5 separate regions of the Homo sapiens genome follow, and all the other regions are linked to region 1. Evidence: promoter capture Hi-C in 16 types of primary human blood cells and fetal thymus (Javierre and others, 2016). All regions are on one chromosome and are shown on one strand. Each heading gives the region's core, a stretch centred on a gene start or on the middle of the fragment in contact. The rest is flanking DNA. Distances are from core to core; before and after follow the strand shown. Region 1 holds the start of AXDND1 (axonemal dynein light chain domain containing 1). Region 2 overlaps ABL2 (ABL proto-oncogene 2, non-receptor tyrosine kinase). Region 3 overlaps ABL2 (ABL proto-oncogene 2, non-receptor tyrosine kinase). Region 4 overlaps ABL2 (ABL proto-oncogene 2, non-receptor tyrosine kinase). Region 5 overlaps ABL2 (ABL proto-oncogene 2, non-receptor tyrosine kinase).

Region 1 (4,118 bases), core at 1,551-4,050:
AAAGCAAGTTTATTAGGAAAATAAAGAAAAAAAGAATGGCTACTCCATAGAGCAGCCCTGAGGGTTGCTGGTTACCCATTTTTATGGTTATTTCTTGATGATATGCTAAACAAGGGGTGGATTATTCATTCTTCCCCTTTTCAGACCATAAAGGGTAACTTCCCGACATTCCCATGGTATTTGTAAACTGTCATGGCGCTGGTGGGAGTATAGCAGTGAGGACGGCCAGAGGTCACTCTCGTGGCCATCTAGGTTTTGGTGGGTTTTAGCCGGCTTCTTTACTGCGACCTGTTTTATCAGCAAGGTCTTTATGACTTGCTATCTCATCCTGTGACTTAGAATGCCTTAACCATCTGGGAACGCAGCCAAGTAGGTTTCAGCCTTATTTTACCCAGTGCCTATTCAAGATGGAGTTGCTATGGTTCAAACTCCTCTGACATTATGTATGATCACCATACCACAGCACAAGACAGAAAAGAGACCTTTGATGTCTCACAGATCTAATCACTTCCTAAATCCTTTAGATTATACTTTATGTGTTTTTCTAGAATGTGTTCACTTATTTCTATCTGCTTTCTTAATACTGTACTTGGATTTTTTTGAACTAGGTTAAGAATACAAAAGATGGATAATTTTGTGTGCTCTATAATGCTATTATGTGTATTTTAATTCTTTGAAAAATTAGGGTAATGGGAGATAAGGCTAAAGGCTAAAATGCTAACACACCCAACATGTTTGATCGGAAGAGTTCAAAGGGACCATGTAGACTTGTTTTGAACCCTTTGCTCGAATTTCTCACAGCTATTACACTCAAAACCAGAAAATAGCCGTAATTCTGTCAACACAGAAGAGAACTGTCCAACTGATTTTCATGTTTGTCCAGGCACTCTACTTGGTGCTAAGGAATATGGTGATTGAATAAGATAAAGTTTCCTCCCTGTCTGGAAGCAACTAGACGCTGGGCTTCTCCCAGCGATTCATTATTTGGCACTAAATCTCTGCCTTAATATGAAACGATCCGGCTCATGCCTGTAATCCCGGCACTTTGGGAGGCCGCGGCGGGTGGATCACCTGAGGTCGGGAGTTCGAGACCAGCCTGACCAACATGGAGAAACCCCGTCTCTACTAAAAACACAAATTTAGCTGGGCGTGGTGGCGCATGCCTGTAATCCCAGCTACTAGGGAGGCTGAGGCAGGAGAATCGCTTGAACCTGGGAGGCGGAGGTTGCGGTGAGCCGAGATCGAGCCATTGCACTCCAGCCTGGGCAACAAGAGTGAAACTCCGTCTCAAAAAAGAAAAGAAAAGAAATGATCCCTCACCGAACCGAGCCTCAGTTCAGTGCGAAGGCTCTGATGATACTCTTTTTTTTTTTGAGACGGAGTCTCGTTCTGTTGCCCAGGCTGGAGTGCGGTGGCGCCATCTCGGCTCACCGCAACCCTTTCCTCCCCGGTTCAAGCGAATCTCCTGCTTCAACCTCCTGAGTAGCTGGGATTACAGGCGCGCGCCACCTCTCTTGGCTAATTTTTGTGTTTTTAGTAGAGACGGGGTTTCACCATGTTGGTCAGGCTGGTCTCGAACTCCTGACCTCGTGATCCACCCGCCTCGGCCTAAGAAAGTGCTGGGATTACAGGCGTGAGCCACCGGCCGCTGATGGTATTCTTTCCTGAGGGCAGATTTTCACGCCAGAAGCCCCGACAATTATACCTGAGCTGGTTCCACCTAAGCTCAATCCTCCTTCCCTGCCCCAAGGGGGTGAAAAATCTGGGCCCAGGAGGCCTTCCTTGTGCTCTGGGGGGAGGCATTTAAGGGTCCAAGGAAGACGTGACCGAAATGTAAAGCACTGGACGGCTTACCCAATAAGGGACCCAGCGTTTCTTATTACCCAACATCCCCCTGAGTCTGGCTTTTAGAAAAATATGCAAAGCGTCCGGGCGCAGTGGCTCACGCCTATGATCCCAGCACTTTGGAAGGCCGAGGCGGGCGCGGTCAGGAGTTTGAGACCAGCCTGGCCAATATGGTGAAACCCCGTCTCTACTAAAAATACAAAAATTAGCCGGGCATGGTGGCCCCCGCCTGTAGTCCCTCGGGAGGCTGAGGCAGGAGAATCGCTTGAACCTGGGAGGCGGAGGTGGCAGTGAGCTGAGATCGCACCATTGCACTCCAGCCAGCGCGACAGAACGAGACTCCGTCTCAAACAAAACAAAACAAAAAACAAACTACAAAATTAGCCGGGCATGGTGGCGTCTGCCTGTAGTCCCAGCTGCTTGGGAGGCTGAGGCAGGAGAATTGCTTGAACCCAGGAGGTGGAGGTTGCAGTGAGCCGAGATCGCACCATTAAACTCCAGCCTGGGCGACAAGAGGGAAATTCCGTCTCAGGGGAAAAAAAGAGAAAGAAAGAAAAAGAGGAAGAAAGAGAAAGAAAAATATGCAAAGCAACAAAAAAGAGAGCTAGAAAGATGGAAACAACTCAGAAGACCCTTGCTTAACCCGCGTGCGTCACGGGCTACAGGGGTCGGCCCCTCGAGCTAACCCCCACCGGCGCCTGCGCACTGGCCTGGCCCGCGGCAGGAAGCCCCGGCGTGAGACACTTTCGGATTCCGTGACAACGGCGGGATTAAACGTTTTTCTTCTCCTTTGCTACTGAACCTATGCTGTGACTTAGAACATAAGAAACTCCAAGAGGGTGTAGGGATTGTCTTAGCTGTCTCCCTCCTCCGCCGGCACCGCTGAAGGCAGCCCCTATGGAGGGCGCTAAACCTCGGGGCCCTGGGTTTCTATGACGACAAACAGGCGTTCCAGCAAAGGAGGAAGTGAGCGGATGCTGGGCGGGTACGCAATGTGTGGGTAGGATCGCGGGTGTCCCTTTCCCGTCATTTTAAACCAAGAAGCAGTGCGAGGCCTGCCCAACTCGCGAGTTTGTGGAACTGGCGCGCGAGAGCGCTGCCTGTGGGGAAGGTATGGTCCCCAGCCGAGCCGCCTGCAGCGAGTGTCCCCCACCAGGGGTGCCGGCGGTCTGCGGGGTCCGCCGAGCGGGTCCTTCCTGCCCTGCTCCTTGACCCCGACCTGACGGTCCACTAAGGCTTCTTAGTCGCTACACATAACCCCAGAACATAGAGGTCGCCCCGAAGAAGGAGAACCATGCTAGATGAATTCTAAACTGCGATCTGAACCTAAGTACTCAATAGTTGTCATCTTTTTTTTTTTTTTTAAATCTTTTTTCCTCTGCCTGCAGGACTATGTGGCAGCCTGCAAGTCCCAGTGCGGCGCTGATTTGTGTCTAAATTAGCTTTCCGGAGGACTATTTCAAATTACTAAAGAGATAGGAGGCATTGTTTATTATGTCTCTCCCGAAAACGCCCTCCACCCCGCTAAACTCTACATCAACATCTGAGAGCAAAAAGTTAAAAGTGTCTGTAGCCAAGGAAGGGACAAGAGGTAAACTTCGTTGATTCTGAAGTCATAAACAGTCATGGCCGTAAGACAGAAATCACCTTCCATTCACCGGTTTTTTAAATCTGATATTCAGAATACCTTGATTGGCTACATTTTTCTAACACACTTGCTTAAATAAAGCAAGAAGTCATTCCTTTTACAGTATTTTGAGTCAGAGTACTGTTTCACTACTCCATCTAAATACAGTTTATACTTTTTTTCAAATGTTGATTTATATATGATTTTAAATTCAACCTATTTTAAATATCAATAGTTACGTATTTTTTGGTTCCTGGTCTTTGGCTTTAAGGAACTTTGGAAAAAGTAATAGTGAGGCAGGGCGCGGTGGCTCACGCCTGTAATCCCAGCACTTTGGGAGGCCGAGGTGGGCGGATCACTTGAGGTCAGGAGTTCGAGACCAGCCTGGCCAAATATGATGAAATCCCGTCTCTACTAGAAATACAAAAATTAGCCGGGCATGGTGGCTCGCGCCTGTAGTCCCAGCTTACTCTGGAGGCTGAGGCAAGAGAATCGCTTGAACCCAGGAGGTGAGGTTGCAGTGAGCCAGGATCGAGCCATTGCATTCCAGTCTGGGAGACAAGAGCAAGACCCCATCTCAAAATAAATAAATAAATAGGCCGGGCACAGTGGCTCACACCTGTAATCCCATTTGGGAGGCTGAGGC
Region 2 (4,739 bases), core at 1,644-4,143, 240 kb before region 1:
ACGAGAATAGCTTGAACCTGGGAGGTGGAGGTTGCAGTGAGCCAGGATCATGCCACTGCACTCCAGCCAGGGTGACAGAGCAAGACTCTGTATTTAAAAAACAAACAAAAAAAAACACCCCCCACACCCCCCCAAAAAAAAGAAAAAAAAAAAAACCTGGCCCTATTTTAAAAAAGGAAAAAGGCTTAGTAAGAGAGTTCTTTGTGACCTGAACAGTGAAAAGCCAATCTAACATAATAAAGCATTTCCTGCTTGTAAAGGTAAACTGAGGGGTGTGGTCACAGTTTTTAATTTGCTTCTTTTCAACAGTCCTTTGTTTAATGTCTCTTTATTTTGCAAAAACATTTCATGAGTTTTTGGTTCAGTACCATTTTGAACACTTCTGAACTTTGAATCTGGGGCAATTAGTACAAACTGAGCAGTTTTATACACCAAAATCAATCCAGGCCACTGTTTCTTGGGCTATTTTTAAACACAGAACCTACTGATTAAAATAACTATTTATTGAAGTGGATTCAAACCTGCAGCTTCCACCATGGTGACTAAAAAGAAAGGTTTGGGGGAGGAAAAAAGGCGGGGCATGGTGGCTCATGCCTGTAATCCCAACATATTGAAAGGCCCAGGCGGAAGTATCACGTCAACAGCAGCCTGGACAACAGAGCGAGACCCTGTCTCTATATTTAAAAAGAAAAAAAAAAAGCATTTGGAGATAACAAGGGGTTAAAGGGCAAGCATTTTTGGAGGAAATCTATGGTTCAGGCAAGGTTCCTCACCTAAAAGTTGTACCAGATTAGGATGCTTGATTTCCTTCATTACTGCAGCTTCTTTCAGGAATTCTTCTACCTCCATGGTATCTTCCTAGAAAAAGGGAAAGGTAAGAAAGAAGAAAACGAGAGGGACAAACCCTCAACTTAAAATCATTTCATTCATCTCACAATCATAAAGCTTCAGCTTTAAAAGTAAAAACTATCTTTTGAATATTTTAGCATATTACAAGATATAATTATTATTTTAATTTAATTTATTTTTTTGAGACACGGTCTCGCTCTGTTACCCAGGTTGGGGTGAAGTGGTGTGATCTCACTGCAACCTCCGCTTCCTGGGCTCAAGCGATTCTCCTGGCTCAGCCTCCCAAGTAGCTGGGATTACAGGCATGCACGACCATGCCTGGCTACTTTTTGTATTTTTAGTAGAGACGGGGTTTTGCAATGTTGGCCAGGATGCTCTCCTGACCTCAGGTGATTCGCCCACCTGAGCTCCCCAAATTGCTGGGATTACAGGTGTGAGCCACCACGCCCAGCTGAAATAATTATTATTTTAAGAAGTCCAACTTAGAAAGAAAAATGCCCTGGAGTAAAAATTAGCAGGAGGAGCAAAATTCAGCAATCGTGTCCTATAATCAACTGAAACACAGGAGCCCTGTATTGGATAGTTCAGTTCTCTCATAGTTTACTTCTCCAGATATCTCAGGCTTTGAATGACGAGACAGAGCACTTAGCTGCTTACATACTTATCTTCTTGCTTAGATCATAATCTTCTTAGAGAGCAAGGCCTTATATATTGCTTCACACTCAGAATATGCTTAAGAAACAGAACTGACTACTACTTAATAGCTAAAGAATAGCCCTTATAAGTGATACACCAGAGACAGTTACTGAGGCTCTGGGAGAATCAAGTGAGTGAAAACCTTATAATTTGATACTGGGATGTTTAAAGGAGACATATAGTAGTACTACGAAAAAGATTTCTGTTAATATTAAGAAGTGATCTAACTGCAAAGAGACAGGAGGAACAAGAACAAGGGAGAGAAAGGACAGAACAAGAAAGAGGCCCATGACTCTCAGACAAGAATTCTGTCCAGCAGGGGTCGTTCTCAGGAAGCAAAAGAGCTTATTTTGCTTTTATAACTTTTAATTTGCTTCTAACCTCCCACTAAGATCTACATCAACAGCCTCCAGAGACAGACCTTTCCCACATGTGGGTTTCACTGCATTGCAGTGAATAATCTACCTCTGCATTGTCAGCAATGGCACTAGGGTTAATCATCTCAATTTGCTGATGTGCTTGGCACTAGTGGGTGGAAAGTGTTCCAAAGTTAAAGAAGGGCATGCTGATATTTCCAAGTGATTGAGCACAAAAGAAAAAGATGCCTGAAAACTGTAATTCTCAGCAACCCACCTTCAATGTTTTCACAGCAACTGTAAGGCTGTATTTCTTCCAGACGCCAACGTAAACCTCTCCATACTGACCGCCCCCAAGTTTGTGCTTCATGGTAATATCTGTTCGCTCCATTTCCCATTTGTCGTGGATGGGGGACACACCATAGACTGTAGGCTTATTACACTTGGGTGCTGGGTAGTGTAATGTTGTCACCAGCCCATCAGCCACTGTGGAGTGATGGTGTACAAGCTCTGCCAAGGTGCTGAAGCGGCTCTCAGCAGTCACATACACCTGGTAAGAAAAGGAGAAAAGCTAAACAACTTGAAAAGAGATTAAGAATTTTTTTTTTTTTTTTTTTTTTTTTTTTGAGATGGAGTCTTGTTCTGTCACCCAGGCTGGAGTGCACTGGCGCGATCTCGGCTCACTGCAAGCTCCGCCTCCCGGGTTCACGCCATTCTCCTGCCTCAGCCTCTCTGAGTAGGTGGGACTATAGGCGCCCGCCACCATGCCCGGCTAATTTTTTGTATTTTTAGTAGAGATGGGGTTTCACCGTGTTCTTGATCTCCTGACCTCGTGATCTGCCGGCCTCAGCCTCCCAAAGTGCTGGGATTACAAGCATGAGCCACCGCTCCCGGCCTAGGAATTCTTTTTTAAAGCCCATATTTCACTGGCCTGAAGATATAGATAGAAGGCTATCTTTAAAAAAAAAAAAAAAAAAAAAAATATTCTGCAGACAGGGTCTCACTATTGCCCAGGCAGGTCTCAAACGCCAGCCTCAAGCAATCCTCCTGCCTGGGCCTCCCAAGGTGCTGAGATTACAGACTGGGCCAGTATACCCAGCAAGAGTTTATCTTAATTGAGGTAAATAAAAAAGTTAAATGATGATTGCAAGGGTAAACACAGAACTTCAGTTTAATCTTATTTAATCTGCCTTTCCTATTCTTCCTAAATTAGTCTTGGGAAAAACCTTCCAAGATCTCTCTCTGGATAATCAAGCTCATTGGTCTTCAAATATATATATATTTTCAAATATATATATACTCAAATTATGTATTTTTTCAAATATATATTTCTTTTTCTTTTTTTCTTTTTTTTGAGACAGAGTCTCACTCTGTTGCCCAGGCTGGAGTGCAGTGTCATGACCTCAGCTCACTGCAACCTCCGCCTCCTGGGTTCAAGTGATTCTCCTGCCTCAGCCTCCCAAGTACCTGGGATTACAGGCATGCGCCATCACGCCTGGCTAATTTTTTTCTTTGTATTTTTAGTAGAGATGGGGTTTCACCATGTTAGCCAGGCTGGTCAGGAACTCCTAACCTCAAGTGATCTGCCTGCCTCAGTCTCCCAAATTGCTGGGATTACAGGTGTGAACTACCACGCCCGGCCAGTCTTCAAATATTTTTAAGCCACAAGACTATGGACTCAACTACAGAAGATACGTAAAGAAGAGATACCCTGATCAAAGTAGGCAAGCAAGGACTTGGCCTCTTGTAGAAATTTACAAAATATCACCTTAATCTTGTAAAAAACATAACTTGAAAACCACTGATTTAGATTTTTTTGGTAAGAGTATTCAAATATCTCATAATTTTAATTATGACGTGCAGTTGAGTGTCTAGGCCATTAAAGAAAGAGCCACAATTTACCGGTGGCCAGGAGCAGTGGCTCACACCTGCAATCCCAGCACTTTGGGAGGCTGAGGTGGGCAGGTCACTTGAGGTCAAGAGTTGAGACCAGCTTGGCCATCATGGTGAAACCTCCTCTCTACTAAAAATACAAAAATTAGCCAGGCTTGGTGGTGCGTGCCTGCAGTCCCAGCTACTTGGGAGGCTGAGGTGGGAGGATTGCTTGAACCTGGGAGGTGGAGGTTGCAGTGAGCTGAGATCACGCCACTGCATTCTAGAGTGGGTGACAGAGCAAGACTCCATCTAAAAAAAAGAAAAGAGCCACACTGGATTTCACAGAATTGCTTACAAAATAGTTGTTAATTTGCTAAGCAATAAGAAATGTAAAGTAAGAGGGAATTCTCTGGACTTCTCTCCCAAGGGAGCCTTAATTTTTATGTATTTTTGAGAAATAAGGGTCTCACTCGGTTGCCCGGCCTGGAGTGCAGTGACACAATCATGACTCACTGCAGCCTTGACCTCCCAGGTTCAGGTGATCCTCCTGCCTCAGCTTCCCGAGTAGCTAGGACCACAGACATATGCCACCATGCCCAGCTAATTTTTAAAATTTTTTGTAGAGATGAGGTTTCACTATATTCCTCAAGCTGGTCTTGAACTCCTGGGCTCAAGTGATCTACCCTCCTTGGCCTCCCCAAGTGTTGGGATTACAGGCATAGGCCACCATGCCTAGCCTGTTATTTATTTTTTTTAAAGACGCTTTTGGTCGGGCGCAGTGGCTCACGCCTGTAATCCCAGCACTTTGGGAGGCCAAGGCGGGTGGATCACGAGGTCAGGAGATCGAGACCATCCTGGCTATCATGGTGAAACACCGTCTCTACTAAAAATACAAAAAATTAGCCGGGCGTGGTGGTGGGCGCCTGTAGTCCCAGCTATTGAGGAGGCTGAGGCAGGAGAACG
Region 3 (4,280 bases), core at 1,020-3,519, 230 kb before region 1:
AATAACACCATTGGGACTCAATATGCAAAACTATCATCCATCCTTCCCTCCAAATTTGTTTCTCTCACTGAATTCCCCATTTCAGTTAATGGCAATTCCATCTTTTCAAATGTTGAGGCCAAAAACCATGGAATCCTTCATGGCTCTGAGAGGTGACAGTGTGCTGGCAGTCCTCACAGCCCTCGCTCGCTCTCGGTGCCTCCTCTGCCTGGGCTCCCACTTTGGTGGCACTTGAGGAGCCCTTCAGCGCACCGCTGCACTGTGGGAGCCCCTTTCTGGGCTGGCCAAGGCCGGAGCCCACTCCCTCAAGCTTGCAGGGAGGTGTGGAGGGAGAGGCGCCAGCAGGAACCGGGGCTGCCTGCCGCGCTTGCGGGCCAGCTGGAGTTCCGGGTGGGCGTGGGCTTGGCGGGCCCCGCACTCACACTCGGAGCAGCCAGCCAGCCCTGTCAGCCCCGGGCAATGAGGGACTTAGCACCTGGGCCAGCGGCTGTGGAGGATCTACTGGGTCCCCCAGCAGTGCCAGCCCACCGGTGCTGCGCTCAATTTCTCGCTGGGCCTTAGCTGCCTTCCCGCGGGGCAGGCCACCCACCCAGCAGTGGCAACCCACTCGGGTCCCCTTCCACACTGTGGAAGCTTTGTTCTTTCGCTCTTTGCAATAAATCTTGCTACTGCTCACTCTTTGGGTCCACACTGCTTTTATGAGCCGTAACACTCACCGCAAAGATCTGCAGCTTCACTCCTGAAGCCAGCAAGACCACGAGCCCACCGGGAGGAACGAACAACTCCAAACGCGCTACCTTAAGAGCTGTAACACTCACTGCAAAGGTCTGCAGCTTCACTCCTGAGCCAGCGAGACCACGAACTCACCAGAAGGAAGAAACTCCGAACACATCTGAACATCAGAAGGAACAAACTCCAGACACGCCACCTTAAGAGCTGTAGCACTCACCGCGAGGGTCTGCGGCTTCATTCTTGAAGTCAGTGAGACCAAGAACCCACCAATTCCGGACACAGCTCCCTTCTTGCTCTCACAAACAACATCCAATTCACTCAGAAATTCCATTGGCACTGCCTTCAAAAATATATCCAGAATCTAACCACTTCTCATTCAGTACCACTTCATGACCACCATCATCTAGGTAAGGGGACCCCAACCCCTGGGCCACAGACAGGTCTGTGGCCTGTTAGGAACTGGGCCACACAGCAGCAGGTGAGCAGCGGGCCAGCGAGCATTACCGCTTGAGCTCCACCTCCCGTCAGATTAGTGGAGGCATTTGATTCTCACAGGAGCTGAAACCTACTGTGAACTGCTCAAGCAAGGGATCTAGGTTGAATGCTCCTTATGATAATCTAATGCCTGATGATCTGAGGTGGAACAGTTTCATGTGAAACCACCGCTCCCCACCCAGTCTGTGAAAAAATTGACTTCCATGAAACTGGTCCCTGGTGCCAAAAAGGTTGGGACCACTGATGTAGACTATTTCACTAGACTCCTGATTTCCATGCTTCCGTGCTTGTTCCCTACTGTTTATTCTCAACATACCAGCCATCTTTCAGAGCATAAGTCAGATTGCTACTCCTCTGTTCAAGACTCTTCAAAGGTTCCCCATTTTAGAGTAAAAGCTAAAATCCTTAAAGGCCCTGCAAGGTCCTTCACAATTGGTCTTGCCCAGCATCTCCTGCTGCTATTCCTCTACCTTATTCTGGCCACTGACATCAATGCTATTGCTTGAACAAAGCAGGCACACTTCTGCCTCAGGACCTTTGCGCTGGCTTTTCCTTTTGCCTAAAACACTCTTCCCCATGACATTTCACCAAATGTTACCTTCTCAGTATGTCATTCTCTGATTATTCCATTTTAAAGTACATCTATTCTTGATAACACTCTCACATCCCCCACTGACTCCTTTCCTGATTTATTTTATCTCCATAGCTCTTATTACCACCAAACATAGTGTATAATTTACTTATTTATTATTATATTCATGTATCTAAGTCTCCTTGCTAAAATGTAAGTTTTATGAGGACCAGGATTGTTGTCTGTTTTGTTCACTGAACAGTGACTCCAGAACAGTGTCTACATATAAGAGGCTCTCAAAAAAGATTTGCTGAATGAATGAACTATGTATACATCCTTACTCACAGAGGATGCTATGAGAGGAAAGAATATAAAACAAAACTCTAGAGTCTGGCAAGGTTTCAGACTTAAAATTAGATAAACATTTAAACTGGATGAACGCAGGCCAGGCACAGTAGCTCATGCCTATAATCTCAGCACTTTGAGAAGCCAAGGCGGGAGGATCACTTGAGGCCAGGAGTTCAAGACCAGCCTGGGCAACATCATGAGACTTCATCAGGTGTGGTGGCTAGCGTCTGTAATCCCAGCACTTTGGGAGGCCGAGGTGGATCACCTGAGGTCAGGAGTTCGAGACCAGTCTGGCCAACATGGCAAAACCCTGACTGGGTGTGGTGGCGGGTGCCTGTAATCCCAACTACTCGGGAGGCTGAGGCAGGAGAATTGCTTGAACCCGGGAGGCAGAGGTTGCAGTGAACTGAGATCAGACTGCTGCACTCCAACTTGGGTGACAAAGCAAGACTCTGTCTCAAAAAAAAAAAAAAAAAAAAAATTAAGTATTGGCTGGGCATAGTGGCACACAACTGTAGTCCCAGCTACCCAGGAAGCTGAGGTAGGATTGTCTGAGCCTGGGAGGTTGAGCCTGCAGTGAGCCAAGATCACACCATTGTACTCCAATCTAGACAATAGAACAAAACCCTGTCTTTAAGAAAAAAAAAAATTAGATTAATAGGAATTCTGCACTGATGACAGTAGAGTGACAGACTGTCAATACGCAAGGACATGTTTATAATAAGGGGAAACTCTGAACCCAAAAGAGGACTCTTAAAGACAAGTCAACTTCCTGAAAGTTGTGTTATCTGACAAAAGGAGAAAACAGAATGAGATCTACAGCACGATTTTATGTAAATTTAGAAGATATATGCAGGCCAAACAATATTATATTTCTGAAATATGTAAAGTAATAACTATAGGATAAAAGTAATTTTTGAGGCCAAAGTACTAAAAGAACCACAACTTAGAAAACAATCCTTCTTATTCCCCATTCCCCTTCTTCCCGTCTCTGGTTTTACGGTCTTTTTGGTTGAGTCAAAAGATCTTATTTCCTTCCTTTCTTCTTTCTTCCCACTCCTCTTTTGTTCTCAAAGAACTTAGGGTCAATTTCCTGCACAATCTGTCTGCACAGGATATCCACTTAAACACCATTCTACCCATTAGCACCAAACAAAAGGAAAACTTTTTCAAAGAGAAAAACACCCTAACATTTTTCTGAAGCTAAGAACGAACATATTTTGAATCATAAAGAGTAAGGGAACTAAATGAGGGGGAACAAGATAAGGGATAAAGGCAAAAACAAAAGAAAACAAAAGCCTGTGGGAAGAGCAAGTAAATGTCAGTGTTACCCAGTAGCTATAGTCTATGTCACTTTCCTCATTGGTTAAGACAGACATGTCTGGATGATTCAGATGTACTGTATACGCCCAAATGCAAGTGTGTGGGCTGGGAATGGTTTATTTTTGAACAAAATGAAATGACTACTATAAATTAGGTAACTTAGATATCAAGTTAACTTATCTTCCATTATTCACTGCTATAGAGGTAGATCAGAGATTTAAGATGGGATAAGAGAAGACTGATTTTCACTCACATGTAAAGAACCTAGATAACAGAAATATATTATCACAATTTAAAAAAGGCATTTTTTTTCTATTGCTACAGTTGCAGGCTACAACAAAAATAAAGCAAAACAGAATAGCCACTTGTACAAAGTAAATTATCATGATTGAAAAAGTTAAAACCCAAAATAATAAAACTGAAATTGAGAAAATTCCTAAGCTTCATGTTTAATTTTATTAAAAATACTTTTCACCAGTTAGTCATTCAGTAACTTTTATCAGTTTAATTAGAAATTTGTCAGGTAGTAATAGGAGAAATTAATATTACAAATTTTTAGTTTAGGCATTTTCAAGTATTTTATAAACATTATCTTGCCAGAATTCTACTTTATCTGACTGTATATTCTCTAAGAAGCTAATAAGTTTTAATAACTTCTTTTAAAAATTATGTAAGGTAAATTATTCAACAGTTTTCAATATAGCTTAAGTTCTTCACATCAAGCCATCTATATCTTATTATTACAAAATACTACATATTATCCATACATTCTTCCATTCAGTATTTATTGAGATCCTACTATGAGATATTC
Region 4 (4,521 bases), core at 1,250-3,749, 160 kb before region 1:
AGGGGGTGATCACATAAGCACCCTCTGCCTACTACACAGCAAAATTCCAGACTCCCAGAAAGAAAGGTGTTCTCTATAAACCACATTGTTTATACAAACAGCTTAGGCACAATGGGCCACTCTTTTTGGTTCTGGAAATGTAGGAACCCTCCCCAAATCTAAGTTCCTAGATGCCAGCCAAGGGCCAACCTTGCAAGCAGACCTCGCTAAGCATATCAGTCTCAATCAGGCCTGCTATGTTAATTCTTTCTGCACAACTGAGATGTTCTCTTTGGAAATAACATGGTTTTTTGTCTTGTTTTTGGAGTTCTGTGTTTTTCTATTCAAAATGCACCCCCATTTCCTGTCACTTTAACTAAAATTACCTTATTGAAATTTGTATCTTTTTGTAACTTATCAGCTACTTATGCCCAACTTTTAAAACTTTTACAAGCCACAAATATGGTGGATACATTATGGGATGATTAAATTATTTGTCTATACTTAAGTAGAATATCTATGAGAAAAATCCCTTTAAGATTTAAAGATAGTAATCCAAGGTGATTCCCTCTCCAAGGGGAACATCCAGTGCCCCTCTCAGGAAAGTAGCAACCTGGAACAGAATCTGGCATGCCTAAGGCATTTGGGGAACAGGGCTGGTTATTTCCTCTGCCTTCCTTGGCTGCCTACATGGATACCCAAGAGTCTTCCTTTCGGGATAGCGTGTCCTCTTGTGCACATGCTGAAGAGTTGTCTTTCTTGACGTAGGTCAGAGGCATTGATATGCAGCAAGTTTCTTTAGTCATCAACTATGACCTTCCCACCAATAGGGAAAATTATATCCACAGAATCGGTTGAGGTGGACAGTTTGGCCATAAAGGTGTGGCTATTAACATGGTGACAGAAGAAGACAAAAGGACTCTTTGAGACATCAAGACCCTCTACAACACCTCCATTGAGGAAATGCCCCTCAATGTTGCCGACCTCATCTGAGGGGCTGTCCTGCCACCCAACCCCAGCCAGGGCTCAATCTCAGGGGTCCGAGGAACAGCAGGAGAGGAGAGGGAAGGGAGCCAAGGGATGGACATCTTGTCATTTTTTTTTCTTTGAATAAATGTCACTTTTTGAGGCAAAAGAAAAAAAAAGATTTAAAGATAGTAAAAAAAAAAAATAATCTCAGCACACTGGGATAAATATCATTTGATGCAATTTAACATATATATCATTATTGGTCTTCTATACTGTAACAGAATTGGTAACTATTAATACTTTTTCAGCAAAGAAAAGAAAATCTTGGCTCTTATTTCTGCTTATTACCAATTAATATGCAAATTTCCAGATTAGCTGCTAACAATATGGAAGTGCTATTCTTTTAAAAATCACCACCTAAAAACTAGTCAGGAAACCCACGCTTCCCTCTTCTTAAAAGAAATTAACTCATGACATTTTAAAAGGAATTAGCCTTGCTGTCCTCCTACACATTTTTGTTTTCAATAGTTAACAGTATCTTAGACTGAGTATGTTCTGTTCAACAGGTCACATAAAAAAATTAACATCACAAGAATATTTTACCTCAGCTTAAAAAATAGGAAAGGAGCCTAAATACCTGTATACAAATGTGTACTTCCTTAGTTTTTGGTTACACCAGCAAATTAAGTAACACTGGACTGTAAGTGAATCAGTGATTGATCTGTACCCTGAAATAACTGCTGAAATGTCTTCTGCCTTTTTCCCCTACAATCACTTCTGTTAACATATGTCCTGTCCTCATGTAAACTTAATATGAGCTCAACAGAATGAAGAATACAGACGCCTTCAAGGAACTGAATCTAACAGAAGAAACAAATAACAATAAAAATTGTAAGACAAAAGTACTGGATGTTAAATAGTGTGAAAAGAAATAAATGTGAAGTAAGTTCTAAAAAGAGGTAAAAACAAAAACCAACCACCAAAAACCCTTTCTCCTTCAATTTAAGATCTCCAGTTTAGAAGGTTCAAAATACATGAGTGAAAAATGACAACAAAAAATTGCTTTGTATATGTTTTGGTTAGCAATACAAAATGATACACACATCAAAGAGGCTTAAAAGGATACACCCCAGAACTTTTATTAGATTGTTGTCTCCCAGTAGGAAAGTGGGTATGGGGTTTGTTTTTAGTTTTTGCTTGATTTTTTCCCGTAATAAAACATACTGCATTTGTAAAAAGAACAAATCATTTTTTTCATTTCCCATCAGAGAAGTAAAGGAAGAATGTAGTATATAAATGGCTTATATTTTTTCTATTTCCTAACGTCAAAACAAAATCTCTGTGTTTTAATAAACATTTTATACTTGCACAAAGAATGAAGGTTTTCCTCTCTTCTGTTGCCTTTGTAAGCTGTTTCCTTAAAACTCAGTGATCAAAATAAATAAAATACAACTAAGTACTCCAGAAAAGATCTTCAAATTGGAAACCAGTTAGTATGCACCATCACCCTCCCTATCAGTACAGACTGCCCTCTCACTGAGGTCATCCTCTCCAGGTAACTTTCCTGGATCATCCCTCATTTTCAAGTATTATTATCCCAAAGATCATTCTTCTCAAAGTAAACAGTCTTTTTTTTTTGTTGCTATGTTCACTGCAAATAAGAAAAAAAAAATAACCTCTATTTGTATTATTGTAACAAGCTATGCAAAGAAGCCCATGCATTAAGAAAGGCATCTTGGTAGGCAATAGCTTACAGTTAGGTCTCAGGTCTCATGTTCCAGCTCTGGCCCCACATGCTATACATTATTTCATTTAGTATGAAATTGGGATAAGAGAATTCTTTTGTCAAATTACGTGCCAGTATCACGCTGTTTTAAATACTGCATTTTTATAACAGGCAGCATAGCCTGGTGGTTAAGGCAGTACACTTGAGCTAAACTGCCTGGCTCTTTGACCCTTCTCTTTACTACTTCCTTGGCTGTGTGGCCTTGCGCACGTTATTTAACATCCCAGTAATTCAATGTCCTTATTTGTAAAACGGAGATGATAATGATACCTATCTAATAGAAAGAGCTGATGTGAGGATTAAAAGTTTTAGGCTTTTAAAATATTTCCATTTATTTATTTATTTATTTATTTAGAGATGGAGTCTCTCGCTCTGTCGCCCAGGCTGGAGTACAGTGGCCTGATCTCAGCTCACTGCAACCTCCACCTCCCAGGTTCAAGCAATTCCCCTACCTCAGCCTCTCGAGTAGCTGGGATTACAGGTGGGCGCCATCACGCCCAGCTAATTTTTGTATTTTTAGTAGAAATAGGGTTTTGCCATGTTGGCCAGGCTGATCTCGAACTCCTGACCTCAGGTGATCCACCCGCCTCTGCCTCCCAAAGTGCTGGGATTATAGGCATAAGCCACCACCTCCGGCAAAATATTTCCTTTTACATGCTATCTGCTCACTGCAAAAAAATATTCAAATAACACAGACATATGCAGAGTTAAAAGTGAAAGTTCCCTCCGCATCTCTACTCCCACCCAGCAAGGAACCTACAAAAATACTAAGATGAGCTGGGTCTGGTGGCTCACACCTGTAATCCTAGCACTTTGGGAGGCCGAGGCGGGCAGATCACTTGAGGCCAGGAGTTCAAGAACAGCCTGGCCAACATGGCAAAACCCCCTCTCTACTAAAAAATACAAAAATTAACCAGAGGTGGTGGCGCATGCCTGTAATCCCAGCTACTCGGGAGGCTGAGGCATGAGAATCGCTTGAACCTGAGAGGCAGAGAGTACAGTGAACCAAGATCACGCCACTGCACTCCAGCCTGGGTGACAGAGCAAGACCCTGTCTCAAAAAGCAAAACAAACACACACACAAAAAAACTAAGATGATTGTTTTAGACCAACTGATAACTTATTTGTTTCATTCACAGTTGTCTAGACCAAGAGAAACCTCCTCTGAATCTGATTAATAGACTCTGTACATCGGTTATTCTAGAGTTTCAGATAAATGTAGTTACTAGATAGAAACATGAGTAGTGTCTCCAACGAAGGGGCTCAGAGTGCTGCATGTAACATAATGGGTGACCCAAATATTTAGCAACCAGCAGAGCAAAGTCATTACAACTCTTTTTCTTTTTTTTTTTTTTTGAGACTGAGTCTCACTCTGTCGCCCAGGCTGGAGTGCAGTGGCGTGATCTTGGCTCACTGCAACCTGTGCCTCCTGGGTTCAAGAGATTCTCCTGCCTCAGCCTCCTGAGTAGCTGGGATTACAAGTGTGTGCCACCACACCCAGCTAATTTTTGTATTTTTAGTAGAGACGGGGTTTCACCATGTTGGTCAGGCTGGTCTCAAACTTTTGACCTCGTGATCTGCCCACCTCAACCTCCCAAAGTGCTGGGATTACAGGCATAAGCCACTGCGCCCGGCCCATTACAACTCTTCATCAAATATTTCCAGCTGCCCTCCCAGGCACATAACAAAACTACACTTTCTCCATGCCCCCCGGCATTACATGAGACCACATGACTTGCTTTGGCCAGTGAGATATAAAAGGAAGTGACATATATCCCTTCTGGCTT
Region 5 (4,515 bases), core at 912-3,411, 190 kb before region 1:
ATTCATTTAATTGGAGGTGGTAAAACAGTTACCTCTTTTGTAAATCTAGTATTTCAGGGACTATCTGGGAAACCACAGGTGGTAAAATCAACTTTTAAAATATTTAAGAATAAAAAGTGGACAGTCCTTTTCTGCAAAGTTAGACTATGTATTAAGAGGTTATGAAACCAGTATAAAAGTAGCTTTTTGGTTGGAGAATAAGAACTTCTCATACCTCAGTCATCAGTAACCAAGGGAAAAATTGCTATTAAAATTTCTTTTCCGTAATGAATTATGGTCCATTTGGGCATCACAGACTTCTAATAGAATACCCACAATACGGGATCCAAGACTCTGGTCTCCCTACTCATTGTATGTATAAAACATTCTGCTATGTATTTAAGGTGCTATGTAAATATGCCTATACTAATATTTCTGCAGGGATATAATTACATAAAATGGAATACACAAATTTTGGAAATAAAAGGTTCAAGTTCCAACATGCCAAAATTCTACTGAAAGTAACAACTATATTAAAGCTTGTAGTGACCAGGTACAGTAGCTCATGCCTGTAATCCCAGCACTTTGGGAGGCTGAGGCGGATAGATCACTTGACGTAAAGAGTTCCAGACCAGCCTGGTCAACATGGTGAAACCCTGTCTGCACTAAAAATACAACAATTAGCTGGGTGTGGTGGCATGCACCTGCAGTCCCAGCTACTTGAGAGGCTAAGGTAAGAGGATTGCTTGCTTGAACCCAGAAGGCAGAGGTGGCAGTGAGCCGAGATCCCGCCACTGCATTCCAGACTGGGTGACAGAGCAAGACTCTGCCTCAAAAAAAAAAAAAAAAAAATTATTTGTGTAAGAAATCTTTAGAGTATGCAGATTCATGCTCCAGAAACCCAAGGCATTTTTAGTAAGCTTATAGTTTCCTCGTCCACTGTTTCAACTAAATGACCTTATAACTAAAATTAGGAACAGAGAGAATAAAAACTTATGGCAAAAGTATCAAGATCTGGACTTTAAAAAGTAAGAACATCGGGCGGGCATGGTGGCTCATGCCTGTAATTCCAGCACTTTGGGAGGCCAAGGCAGGTGGATCACTTGAGGCCAGGAGTTCAAGACAAGTCTGGCCAACATGGTGAAACCCCGCCTCTACTAAAAATACAAAAATTAGCTGAGTGTGGTGGGCTGGGGGGGGTGCCTGTAATCCCAGCTACTCGGGAGGCTGAAGTAGGAGAATTGCTTGAACCCGGGATGTGGAGGTTGCAGTGAGTTGAGGAGCCATGATCACACCACTGCACTCCAGCCTGGGCAACAGAGCAAGACCCTGTCTCAAGAAAAGGAAGAACATCTAAAATAAAGCCTTCTTATAGGAACAAATAATGTTAATACCCACTGACCAAGTCATTAAATCTGAGGAATACCCAGATTACATAACTTTTGACATCAGAGTATAAAAGAAAAGGAGCATTGATAAAACAGTGGAAATTAGGAAACACAACTACATTAACAACAGTTACATCCTAAGCAGGAATACAATTTAATGAGTCACCAGTTTAAAATGTGCAAAACTCAGACCTAAAAGGGTAAGGCTTATATAATGTTGTCCAATTATTTAAAGTGCTCAGATAATTCCTCCACATGAGGATTAACTCTGCAATTCTAAGCTTCCTACCCAACGTCCCAATCCCATAATAGGCAATCACATTATACTAATTATGACTGTCATGATTTATACTCATTGGAATACTGATTATTTCACAAGTCAAGTGTCTAAGCAATTTTGACCTTGAAAAGGCAAAAAAATAAAATTTAAAAGCCGAGATATTCAATATATAATGTTATATAATGTAAATATTAGGAAACAAGAGCAACAGCTATCTTAAAGGGTTTTTTTTTTGTAATAGAAAGTACCTAGGAAGAACAGGCCCAGAGTTAGGGGGTACTAAGGTAAAAATAAGACATGGTCCCTGGCCCTCAAGAACCTCATGTACTAATACGGGAAAAACAAAAAAGTAAATCAGCTATTATAATACAGAGATATGGCCTGAATGTTTTTGGTATCATAGAGCAAGAGTGTCTACTAGGATACACAAAACGCAGAGAAGCCCTCTTGAAAGAGGACTCTTGGCCTGAGTCTTAAAGGAAACTCAAGAGTTAGCCACTGAATAAAAGCAAGTTAGCATGTAAAATAGTACAACTGTGATATATATTAATACTATATTCTTTCATTCAAGAAATATGTCTTGGCTGGGCATAGTGGCTCATGCTTGTAATCCCAGGACTTTGGAAGGGCGAGGCAGGGGGATGACTTGAGGTCAGGGGTTCAAGACCAGCCTGCACAACATGGCGAAACCCTGTCTCTACTAAAAATACAAAAAAAAAAAAAAATTAGCCAGGTGTTGGTGGCACACGCCTGTCATCCAAGCTACCTGGGAGGCTGAGGTGGGAGGATCACTTGAGCCTAGGGAGGTTGAGGCTGCAGTGAGCCATGCACTCCAGCCTGGGTACTGCACTCCAGCCTGGGTGACAGAGTGAGACCCTGTCTTAAAAAAACAAAAAAAAAAAGGGGGGAAATACTTCTGGACCACCTACTGTATGCCAAGGACAGGCTATATTTACAGGCCCACCTGTACTTTAGTATGGCTACAGCCTCAGGAGCATGTATGAGATTGGGAATGCACCAAATTATGAAAGCTTTGGATGCTCTGTTAAGGAGTTGGGACCTCACTCTGAAGATGGTAAGAAATCAATAAAAGCTGGTAAGCAAGGAAGCAATAAGATCAGAGTTGTATATACCCTGACTCAGGCTTTCTTATACGTTCCCTCTGAGGAGCTGCCACGAAGGTTCTAGAGGAGAGGAAGGAGCTGATATGTCCCATGTTTCACAGATACTGAATGAGACTCTGCTGCTAAGGCCTACCACCTCTCTACCCCCATGTTCTATCATCAGACTTCACTAGTGGAATAAAAAGGTCCAGTACCAGTAGCAGGTAGGAAACAGAAAAGTAACAGAGAAGAAAGAGAGTTCCCGTGGCCAAGGTGCATAAGGGTCACCTCCAGGGAACTATTCATATTTTAAACAGAACATTATACCAACAAAATAATAGAGGATATTAAAACATCTGATAACAAAGTAAATTTTATGTTGTGTTTATTTTATCACAATTTAAAATAATTTTTAAAAGAAAAAAACCATCTGAAATTTAGGTGAAACATTTTTCTATTCTGTCATTTAAAATGATAAAGATCAGTTCAGAGTATACTTAATAATAATTCCCCCATTCTTCCTTCACATTTAAAGAATTCTTCCAAGTCCGCCCCCTACCACAAAGCTAAATGTGCAAAAATGCAAAAAGCGTGATAATTATTTCATTGGGGGAAAGAAGAGAATCATATCCCAAATGGACAACATCCAATAACCAACTATCCTTTAGACTTGCAATGGTGCAAACTGCCACCAAAAAGAACACACATGGATTTGGACACATTCTAACAGTACAGCTGTCTGTCCAGGCATGCTGCTGAAAGAACAGTACATTCCTTCTTGTTCCATCTTCCACCCACCTTAAGCCCCATTATGAAACGGAGTTTAAACAAAACTATCATATTTAAGCCTCTAATATATGTGTGTTTTCAATAAGATCAGCTAGGTAAAAATAGTGGCAGTAAACCCCTCCAACATTGCCCTAAGATTAGAGTCTGAAGATTTCTGAAGAGGAAAATAATTTTGGTAATGTATATTTGTCAAAAGTTTCAACTTGAGATTGCAATCTAGGTGCAAAGATAGGGAAATAAGTTACTAACTTTCAGAAAACTGATATAGTATGGTAGAGGAGTGAGTATTGAGAATCAGAGTAATGGGATCTGAGTCCTAAATAACTAGCCTATCAGCAGCTTTGTGACCTTGGGAAAACTGCCCAACCTCGCTGAGCTTCAGTTTTCTCATTTATGAAACATGCTTAATGATGCTTACACTATCTATATCATGGTGCTGCTGTGAAAAGCAAAGAGCTAAATGTAACCCTAACTCAGCACACTCTAATGCACCCTGTCAATAATCTCAATTTCATGCAACTCTTTTTGAATACCATGTTTTATATTTCCAGCTCATTCTTTCTAATACACGAATTCATATAATCTTGTGACCCCACCAGATCTCCCATCTACTGACCGCTATCTTTGAACTATCTTTTTTTAATTTTTATTTTATTTTATTTTTATTTTTGAGACAGAGTCTCACTCTATTGCCCCGGCTGGAATGCAATGGCATGATCTCGGCTCACTGCAACTTCTGCCTCCCAGGTTCAAGCAATTATCCTGCCTCAACCTCCTGAGTAGCCGGGACTATAGTCACGTGTCACCAGGCCCGGCTATTTTTTTTTTTTTTTTTTTTTTTGTATTTTTAGTAGAGACAGGGTTTCACCATGTTGGCCAGGATGGTCTTGATCTCCTGACCTCATGACCCGCCTGCCTCAGCCTCCCAAAGTGCTGGGAATTACAGGCGTGAGCCACCGCACCCAGCCTATCTTCA

Evidence for each region. The method cuts DNA at HindIII sites, captures the fragments that hold promoters and counts their contacts. A CHiCAGO score of 5 or more calls a contact.
Region 2: a contact is called between a fragment that was not itself captured here and the fragment with the promoter of AXDND1 in region 1, in 11 of 17 cell types (total CD8 T cells, naive CD4 T cells, activated CD4 T cells and 8 more). The highest score is 17.1, in total CD8 T cells.
Region 3: a fragment that was not itself captured here is called in contact with the fragment with the promoter of AXDND1 in region 1 in 1 of 17 cell types (naive CD4 T cells); the score reaches 6.2 in naive CD4 T cells.
Region 4: a contact is called between a fragment that was not itself captured here and the fragment with the promoter of AXDND1 in region 1, in 3 of 17 cell types (activated CD4 T cells, neutrophils and naive CD4 T cells). The highest score is 6.3, in activated CD4 T cells.
Region 5: a fragment that was not itself captured here is called in contact with the fragment with the promoter of AXDND1 in region 1 in 1 of 17 cell types (activated CD4 T cells); the score reaches 5.2 in activated CD4 T cells.

What each region holds. Positions count from the first base shown.
Region 1 is chr1:179,363,171-179,367,288 of GRCh38, forward strand. AXDND1 (axonemal dynein light chain domain containing 1) reads left to right here and starts at 2,801. Exons shown (of 26, transcript NM_144696.6): 1 at 2,801-2,830; 2 at 3,234-3,436. The coding sequence starts at 3,340. RefSeq lists enhancers at 2,352-2,751, 3,132-3,201. The HindIII fragment of the contact is 9,843 bases long and covers 1-4,118 here.
Region 2 is chr1:179,119,417-179,124,155 of GRCh38, forward strand. ABL2 (ABL proto-oncogene 2, non-receptor tyrosine kinase) reads right to left here. Exons shown (of 12, transcript NM_007314.4): 5 at 2,179-2,451; 6 at 774-858. Among named protein-coding and RNA genes, the nearest start is that of TOR3A, 40 kb to the left of the region's middle. The HindIII fragment of the contact is 3,901 bases long and covers 944-4,739 here.
Region 3 is chr1:179,138,511-179,142,790 of GRCh38, forward strand. The region is part of intron 1 of ABL2 (ABL proto-oncogene 2, non-receptor tyrosine kinase); the gene reads right to left. Among named protein-coding and RNA genes, the nearest start is that of TOR3A, 59 kb to the left of the region's middle. RefSeq lists enhancers at 308-814, 4,133-4,280. The HindIII fragment of the contact is 3,277 bases long and covers 632-3,908 here.
Region 4 is chr1:179,200,955-179,205,475 of GRCh38, forward strand. All of the region lies in intron 1 of ABL2 (ABL proto-oncogene 2, non-receptor tyrosine kinase), which reads right to left. LOC124900429 (small nucleolar RNA SNORA67) reads left to right here and starts at 533; the gene lies at 533-673. It also overlaps the pseudogene EIF4A1P11. The HindIII fragment of the contact is 5,678 bases long and covers 1-4,521 here.
Region 5 is chr1:179,177,590-179,182,104 of GRCh38, forward strand. All of the region lies in intron 1 of ABL2 (ABL proto-oncogene 2, non-receptor tyrosine kinase), which reads right to left. Among named protein-coding and RNA genes, the nearest start is that of ABL2, 50 kb to the right of the region's middle. The HindIII fragment of the contact is 1,030 bases long and covers 1,647-2,676 here.